Regions from separate parts of the Homo sapiens genome. Here region 2 is linked to region 1. The links are contacts of gene promoters, found by promoter capture Hi-C in blood cells and fetal thymus (Javierre and others, 2016). All regions are on one chromosome and are shown on one strand. Each heading gives the region's core, a stretch centred on a gene start or on the middle of the fragment in contact. The rest is flanking DNA. Distances are from core to core; before and after follow the strand shown.

What was found. Contacts are between HindIII fragments. The CHiCAGO score rates a contact against its expected background, and 5 or more counts as called.
Region 2: a fragment that was not itself captured here is called in contact with the fragment with the promoter of PRTN3 in region 1 in 1 of 17 cell types (monocytes); the score reaches 6.0 in monocytes.

Annotation. Positions count from the first base shown.
Region 1 is chr19:838,900-842,681 of GRCh38, forward strand. PRTN3 (proteinase 3) reads left to right here and starts at 2,100. Exons shown (of 5, transcript NM_002777.4): 1 at 2,100-2,170. The coding sequence starts at 2,110. The HindIII fragment of the contact is 23,301 bases long and covers 572-3,782 here.
Region 2 is chr19:1,149,463-1,153,244 of GRCh38, forward strand. All of the region lies in intron 2 of SBNO2 (strawberry notch homolog 2), which reads right to left. Among named protein-coding and RNA genes, the nearest start is that of SBNO2, 23 kb to the right of the region's middle. The HindIII fragment of the contact is 7,004 bases long and covers 1-3,782 here.

The DNA of each region.
Region 1 (3,782 bases), core at 850-3,349:
AGACTCTGTCTCAAAAAAAAAAAAAAATCCAAAGGGGAAAACAGTAACTGGACAGTGCAGGAACCGGCAGATGCCCTGACCACGTGGTCAAGGTTATTACCATCAGCACGAGACAGGCCGAAGCCATGGGCTTCGACGTGGGGGGCCTGAGACAGACACACGCCACGCCCGGGACTCCCTCCATTGAGTCCTGAGGCCACCCAGGACCATCCCCACGGAGGGACGCTCTGCAGAGTGACCACCAGCTCTCCTCAATGGTCCCAAGGGCTGAGGGAGGGCAGAGGGACTGCGCCCGCTGGAGGAGACCCTGACATCTGAAGATGGGTGGCTTGTGTACCCAGGACCCAGCAAAGGGTGGCTGGTGATACTCAGGGGGCTGGGGCAGAGGGGGCCATTTGGAATCAACTTTCGCGCCCTGGCTTCGATCACAGCCTGGAGGGTTGAGCAAGAGGACAGAATTTAGGGAAGCTGGGGGAGGGAGGCCGGGGGAGGGAGTTTGGGGAGCGGGGAGGGAGTTTGGACCCTTTGGACTTCTGTAAGCGTGAAATCCTTTCCAAATGAAACGTTAAAAAGCTTTTTTTCTTTTTGGCCTCCAAGTTCATTCAGTGCTTCTCTCCATTTCACTGTAGGTTTAAACCGTTCAGTTATAAATAAATAATTTTATCCTCTGTCCTCGGCTTTCCCCCGTTTCCGGCACTGCAGACATGGGGGCTGGATTTGTCTCTGCGGCGGGGCCATCCTGGGCACTGCAGGGCCCTGCCAGGAGCTCCCTCCAAGTCGTGACAACCACGGATGTCTCCAGGCCTCACACAGGGACCCCTGGGGGCAGAATCACCCCAGGGTTAGAGGATTCCACAGACCCCAAGAGACTCTGAGTCCCATGATCCTCTGCCCTGCTGAGGTCCCAGGAGGCTGCACACATTGAAATCCACACCCTGAGTGGGAGGGAGAGAGGAGGCGAGTCCCGGGAGCTGGGGTCCCCCGGGTTTATGCCGTACGCCCCATCGGGAGTTTATTCTGGTGTCCGGTGTGAGCAGGGGGCAGACTGGATTTTTTATTTTTTATTTTTATTTATTTATGTTTTGAGATGGAGTCTTGCTCTGTTGCCCAGGCTGGAGTGCAGTGGCACGATCTTGGCTCCCTGCAACCTTCGCCTCCCAGGCTCAAGTGATTCTCCTGCCTCAGCCTCCTGAGTAGCTGGGACTACAGGCGCCCGCCAACACGCGCAGCTAATTTTTGTATTTTTAGTAGAGATGGGGTTTCACTATGTTGGCCAGGCTGGTCTTGAACTCCTGACCTCAGGCGATCCACCCGCCTCGGCCTCCCAAAGTGCTGGGATTACAGGTGTGAGGCACCGCACCTGGCCATTTTTTTCCCCAAATAATGAACACTGGTCTCTCCCCTGGGCCCTGTGGACATCGGGGCTGGATCCTTCTCTGGGGCAGGCCCGTCCTGGGCACTGCAGGGTGCTAGGCATCATCCTTGGCCTCCACCCACTCCATGCCAGGAGCTCCCCTTTCGTGACAGCCACAGGTGTCCTCAGACCTCGCCCAGGGTCCCCTGGGGGCAGAATCACCTCTTGATTGAGAATCCTGGCCTTAAAGGGGGAAGAAAACCCCCAGACAAAACTGGCAGGAGGATGTTCGCTGGGGCCTCAGGTGAGGCACTGAGGGCACTCGTGGTGGGGCCCTGCCTTCCCGAGCTCTGCATCCTGTCCCCTGCTACGTCCTGCTGTCTGTCCGTTTCCAGCTCACCCACCCACGGGACACACCTGCCACGGCCGGCTTTGCTGGGGCCACAGGGACCTCGTCAGGGAGGCGTCTCCTTGTGGGTGGCACGTGGGCATGTGTTGCTCTGAGGGCTGTGGCCATGTTGCCCACCTGGCCAGGGACCCCCGACTTGGGTGGGTGACAGCCAGCCTCCCCGCCCCCACAAAGGTTGGGACCTTGAGCCCAAAGCCCCCACCTCCTCCCCGGAGTCCGTTCTGACTCCCAGGCTCCCAAGGCAAAAGGAGGAAGTGGGGACCCAGCCTGGGCATTGGGCAACTCAACGGCCTCTGGCATTGGGCTATAAGAGGAGCTTGACCGTGGGTGCACCCTGGACCCCACCATGGCTCACCGGCCCCCCAGCCCTGCCCTGGCGTCCGTGCTGCTGGCCTTGCTGCTGAGCGGTGAGTGAGCCACGTGCCCATCCATCCAGCCTCCAGGCCCCGGTGGATTGTGGGGAAATATCCACCACGAGGTCCATCCAAAGCCCTTCTGGCACAGCTGGGGAAACTGAGGCAGGGTCAGGGGAGACTCCACTCACTGCTCGGGACCAACGCTTGCAGGGGTGGGGAGGACAAGGGCAAGGGGGAGCCCTGGCCATTTGACTCAGTTGCCTATCTGTAAAACGGGCAAAACCCAGCCCTTCCCTCCTGAGGAGCTGTTTTGGGAATTAGCTAGTAACAGGCGAATTCCTGGACAGCACCCAGCCTTCAGCAAATGCTCAGTGAATATGCATGAATGAATGAATGAGTGAATGAATGAGTGAGTGAGTGAATGAGTGAACAAATGAATGAGTGAATGAATCAATGAGTGAGTGAATGAATGAGTGAATGAGTGAATGAGTGAACGAATGAATGAGTGAATGAATCAATGAGTGAGTGAATGAATGAGTGAATGAGTGAATGAATGAGTGAATGAGTGAATGAGTGAACGAATGAATGAGTGAATGAATGAATGAGTGAGTGAGTGAAAGGGTCGAGGAGTTAGTGATGCTGGAATCAGGGGAAGAAGAGAGCATGGGCCCCCTCAGGTCCCTATCCTGAGGGTGATTTTCTTTTTCTTTTTCTTTTTTTTTTTTTTGAGACGGAGTCTCGCCCTGTCGCCCAGGCTGGAGTGCAGTGGCGCGATCTCGGCTCACTGCAAGCTCAGCCTCCCGGGTTCACGCCTTTCTCCTGCCTCAGCCTCCCGAGTAGCTGGGACTACAGGCGCCCACCACCATGCCTGGATAATTTTTTGTAATTTTTGTAGAGACGGGGTTTCAAGGTGTTAGCCAGGATGGTCTCGATCTCCTGACTTCGTGATCCGCCTGCCTCAGCCTCCCAAAGTGCTGGGATTACAGGCGTGAGCCACCGCGCCTGGCCCTTTTTTTTTCTTTTTTGAAACGGAATCTTGCTCTGTCGCCCAGGCTGGAGTGCAGTGGTGCAATCTCAGTTTACTGCAGCCTCAGCCTCCTGGGGTCAAATGATTCTCCTGCCTCCGCCTCTTGAGTAGCTGGGATTACAAGCACACACCACCACACCTGGCTAGTTTTTGTATTTTTAGTAGAGATGGGGTTTCACCACGTTGGTCAGGCTGGTCTCGAACTCCTGACCTGAGGGGGATTTTCAATGCCTCAGTTTGTTCATCTGCAAAATGGGTCTCTTTGTTGGCTGATTTTTTTTTTTTTTTTTGCTTCTTTTTTTTTATTTTGTTTTGTTTTGTTTTTTTGAGATGGGGTCTCACTCAGGCATGAGCCACTGCGCCCAGGATTTTTTTTTTTTTTTTTTTTTTTTGAGACAGAATCTCACTCTGTTGCCCAGGCTGGAGTGCAGTGGTGTGATCTCGGCTCACTGCAACCTGTGCCTCCTGGGTTCAAGCGATTCTCCTGCCTCAGCCTCCCAGGCAGCTGAGATTACAGGTGCGAACCACCACACCTGGCTAATTTTTTTTTTTTTTTTTTTTGAGACGGAGTGTCATTCTGTTGCCAGGCTGGAGTGCAGTGGGGCGATCTTGGCTCACCACAACCTCCGCTTCCTG
Region 2 (3,782 bases), core at 915-3,414, 310 kb after region 1:
CAGTGAGTGGGAAGCAGAGGACCTGCGGTGCAGCCCGGCTAAGCCCTCCGGGCAGGGTGACAGGCCGAGAGGCTAGGGAGGCCCCGCAGTCAGGGTCCCATCCCGCCCCTGCTGGTATCTCCTGGGGAGTCATTTAACTGCCCCGTGCCTCAGTTTCCCCACCTGCACAAGACCCCACCCAAGGCTTGTGGTGTGGTCTGAAGGCACTGAACCACCCGCGTGAAGGGCTCAGCACAGGTCTTGCTCTACCAGCAGCCCCATGTGCAGGCCCGCAGCCCGGGAGTCTGCATCTCACACAAGACCTGGGGGTGCCGCTGGCCCCGGGACCCTGCTTGGAGGCCCCATTCTAGGAGGTGGAGGATCGGACCGTTTGCGTGAGGGAGACGCGCACCCGCTGCCTGTGGTGGAGGGTGGGTGTCGGGGGCTCCTCGGGCAGGGCCTGGGGCAGGCGAGGGCCTCACACCACCTCCAGGCCCCTCGGACAAGCTGATGTGCCCGGGAAGCTCAGGCTGCTGCGGGACGGGGCCCTGACTTCTCAGAAGCTGCACGGGGCTGGGGTGCGGGGAGCCTGCTTTGGGAAATGGTGACCAGTGGCCTGGAGGCTCAGCCCGAGGTCAGTGGAGGCGTGAGTGGCTCCAGGTTGGCCGAATCTCTGGTGGGTCTGACTCCAGGCCAGGCTTACCCAACACCCTCGCCAGGAGCCGATGTCCCCACCCCATGGTTCTCTGGGAAAACCTCACTATGCCTGCCCTTGGGAATGAGAGCGGCTTGAGGCACACGGCAGGCCCCAAAACCTGAGGATGGGGAGCACACGGGGCAGCAGCGGGCCCAAGGGCGGCAGCGGGCCCAGGGTCAGCACCTGCGGCTTCGGGGGCAGGGCTGTGGACACCTCGTGCCCTGCAGAATGGGCACCCCTCAGCAGGGCCCCCACCTGCACAGGGCCAACCTCACCTGCAGCAGAGAGACCCTGCCGTCACAGACGCCCCCACAGTCACGGGGGAGACCCTGCCGTCACGGATGCCCCCACGGTCACGGGGGAGACCCTGCCGTCACGGACGCCCCCACGGTCACGGGGGAGACCCTGCCGTCACGGACGCCCCCGTGGTCATGGGGGAGACACCACCAGCCGGGGGCATCATCCTGCTTATCCCAGCAGGACTGGGGGCCACGCTGGCTTCCAGAACAGGGTTGGGGGTTCGCCTGCTTCCCTGAGTCCCCCAGTGACCTCTCCCAGGCCCACGTGAGCCCTGCTCCTCTATGAGGCCCTGATGCAATTCCCTGGGGCTCGGCCACCTCTGCCCCTCATTCACCTCACACTGGCTGGGAACCAGCCCGGATGGCCGGGGGCCACTTTCTGTACCCGCAGGTGCTGGGTGGGGGATTCCAGGACCCCCGACAGCCTCGAGATAGGCAAAGCCCTCGGGGTGACCGCTGCCCCGCTCCTCCAGCTTTTGCATAAAATAAGTTTATCAGCAAAAGCCCACAGCTCCTCCCCTGCACAGAGGCCGGCAGCCTGGGCACCCTGAGCTCCTGCACCCGTGAGAAGACCCCGTGCAAGTGGCTTGCAGGAAGCCGGGCCACCAGCCACAGGGGCTCCAGAGCCCGGGTCTCCTGATCCTTCCCCTCCTCCTGCCCTTTTGGGAAGAGAGAAAGCCAGCCCTGGAGAGAAACAGGAACTTCCCAAGGCCATGTGGCACATCCGGAACATTCTGGAACAGAACTCTGACTCCAGACCAACCCAGCCTCCTCAGATGAGCTGGAGTCCGTCTCAGGCACACACGGCGCCTTGGGCCAGGCTGGGCAGGGCCACGGCCAGGGAACTGCAGCTGCAGGAAGGGGGCGGGGGGCTTGGGGTCGCAGGGCGGGAGGATCCAGGGGTCCCTGGCTCACCCAACATGCTCCACCTGTACCCAGGCCAGGCTAGGGGATGGGACGGGGGGAAAGTCCTGACTGCCTCTATCCCCCTAGTCTCCTCCCTCCCACAGCCCATGGCTCCTCTGAGACCTGCCATCCACACACACCCGAGTCCCACCCCACAGGGGTGCCATGGGCATGGCAGGCCAATCAGAGTCTTCCCTGGGACCTTCTCTGGCAGCCAGAGGGTGTGGCTTCACCTTTAGATGGCAGGTCCTAGCACATAATTGGTCCAGAGATGGGCACCTGACCCTGCCCAGACAATCAGAGCCTGCCTGGTGATTTTCTTTCCTTTCCTTATTTTGAGACGGAGTCTCACTCTGTCACCCAGGCTGAAGTGCAGTGGCACGATCGTGGCTCACTGCAACCTCCACCTCCCGAGTTCAAGCGATTCTCCTGTCTCAGCCTCATGCGTAGCTGGGATTACAGGCGCCCGCCACCACGCCCAGCTAACTTTTGTATTTTTAGTAGAGATGGGATTTCATCATGTTGGCCAGGCCGGTCTCGAACTCCTGACCCCAAGCAATGTGCCCACCTCGGCCTCCCAGAGTGCTGGGATTTCAGGCGTGAACCATTGTGCTGGCCGGTGTATTTTTATTTCTAATTGAATACTCTGGGCACTGGAAGAGGCTGGGCTGTGCGTGTGCGAACTCAGTCGACCCTGCCCAGAGGTGTCCATGACGTACCCGAATGTGACGGAACCCGGAACAGGGAGGGTGGGATGAGCCTCACACACGGGATGGGGAGCAAAGCCGGTTACGCGCACGGGTGCGCCCCGGCCTGAGCCCTGTGGCTGGTGTCCAGTGCCCCCGCCGGGTTCCAGCCCTGTCGCATTCCCCGACTGTCACTGCTAACACCTTCCTGCTCCCGCTCGGATCCTTGAAGATGGCTCCTCTGTCTCCACATCCCATAATTCGCTTAATTATTTCCCCACCGTAGAGCCTCTGGGGAGATTCCAGTTTCCTGCCACTATAAATAGTGCCGCTCTGTCTTCCCCTCCCTCCTGGATTAGTCCCCAGGGTGTGTTTCCGAGATAGAATTCTTGGATCGGAACAAGCTCCTGGCGGGTTTCGGGGGATGGAGCTGTTCCGGTGGGGATGTGGCTTGGCCAGTCCCCTTTATGGTGGCCCAGGAGGCTGACCGACGGCCGGTACTCGAGCTCCACCGGGGCAGCTGTGAGGATCCAGCCTCAACCCCAAGGGACTCAGGAACTAGGGAGGGGGACAGGAGGGGTCTGGGCCGCAACAGGGACCCTGCTACGAGAGGGGTACCCTGGCCCCAGCTCAGAGCCCCCTCTGGACGGTCAGAACATGGCAGGAAGCTGCCCAAAGCCCTCTGAGGATGGACTGCCGAGGGGTGTCTGTGATGTTCGCCCCACAGGCCAACCTGGGTGTTGGGCTAGGGAGTACCCAGGAGACCCTGGAGTCCTGGAGCAGGTCCTGCTGCTTGATAGGAGAGGGCAGCCCCTCTGTCTCCAGGTAAATCCCCAGGCAGGGCCGGGCGCGGTGGCTCACGCCTGTAATCCCAGCACTTTGGGAGGTCAAGGCAGGCGGGTCAACTGAGCCCGGGAGTTTGAGACCAGCGTGTCCAACGGGGCAAAACCTCATCTCTACGAGAAAATTTTAAAAATCTGCCGGGCATGGTGGCGCGTACCTGTGGTCCCAGCTACTCAGGAGGCTGAGGCAGGAGAATCACTAGCCCAGGAGGCAGAGGCTGCAGTGAGCCGAGATCGCACCACTGCACTTCCAGCCTGGGCAACAGAGTGAAACCGTGTTTTAAAAATAACAAAACAAAATAAAATAAAATGAAATAAAATAAAAATAAATATATATATACACGTTTATATATTTTTAATTTAAAAATTTTTT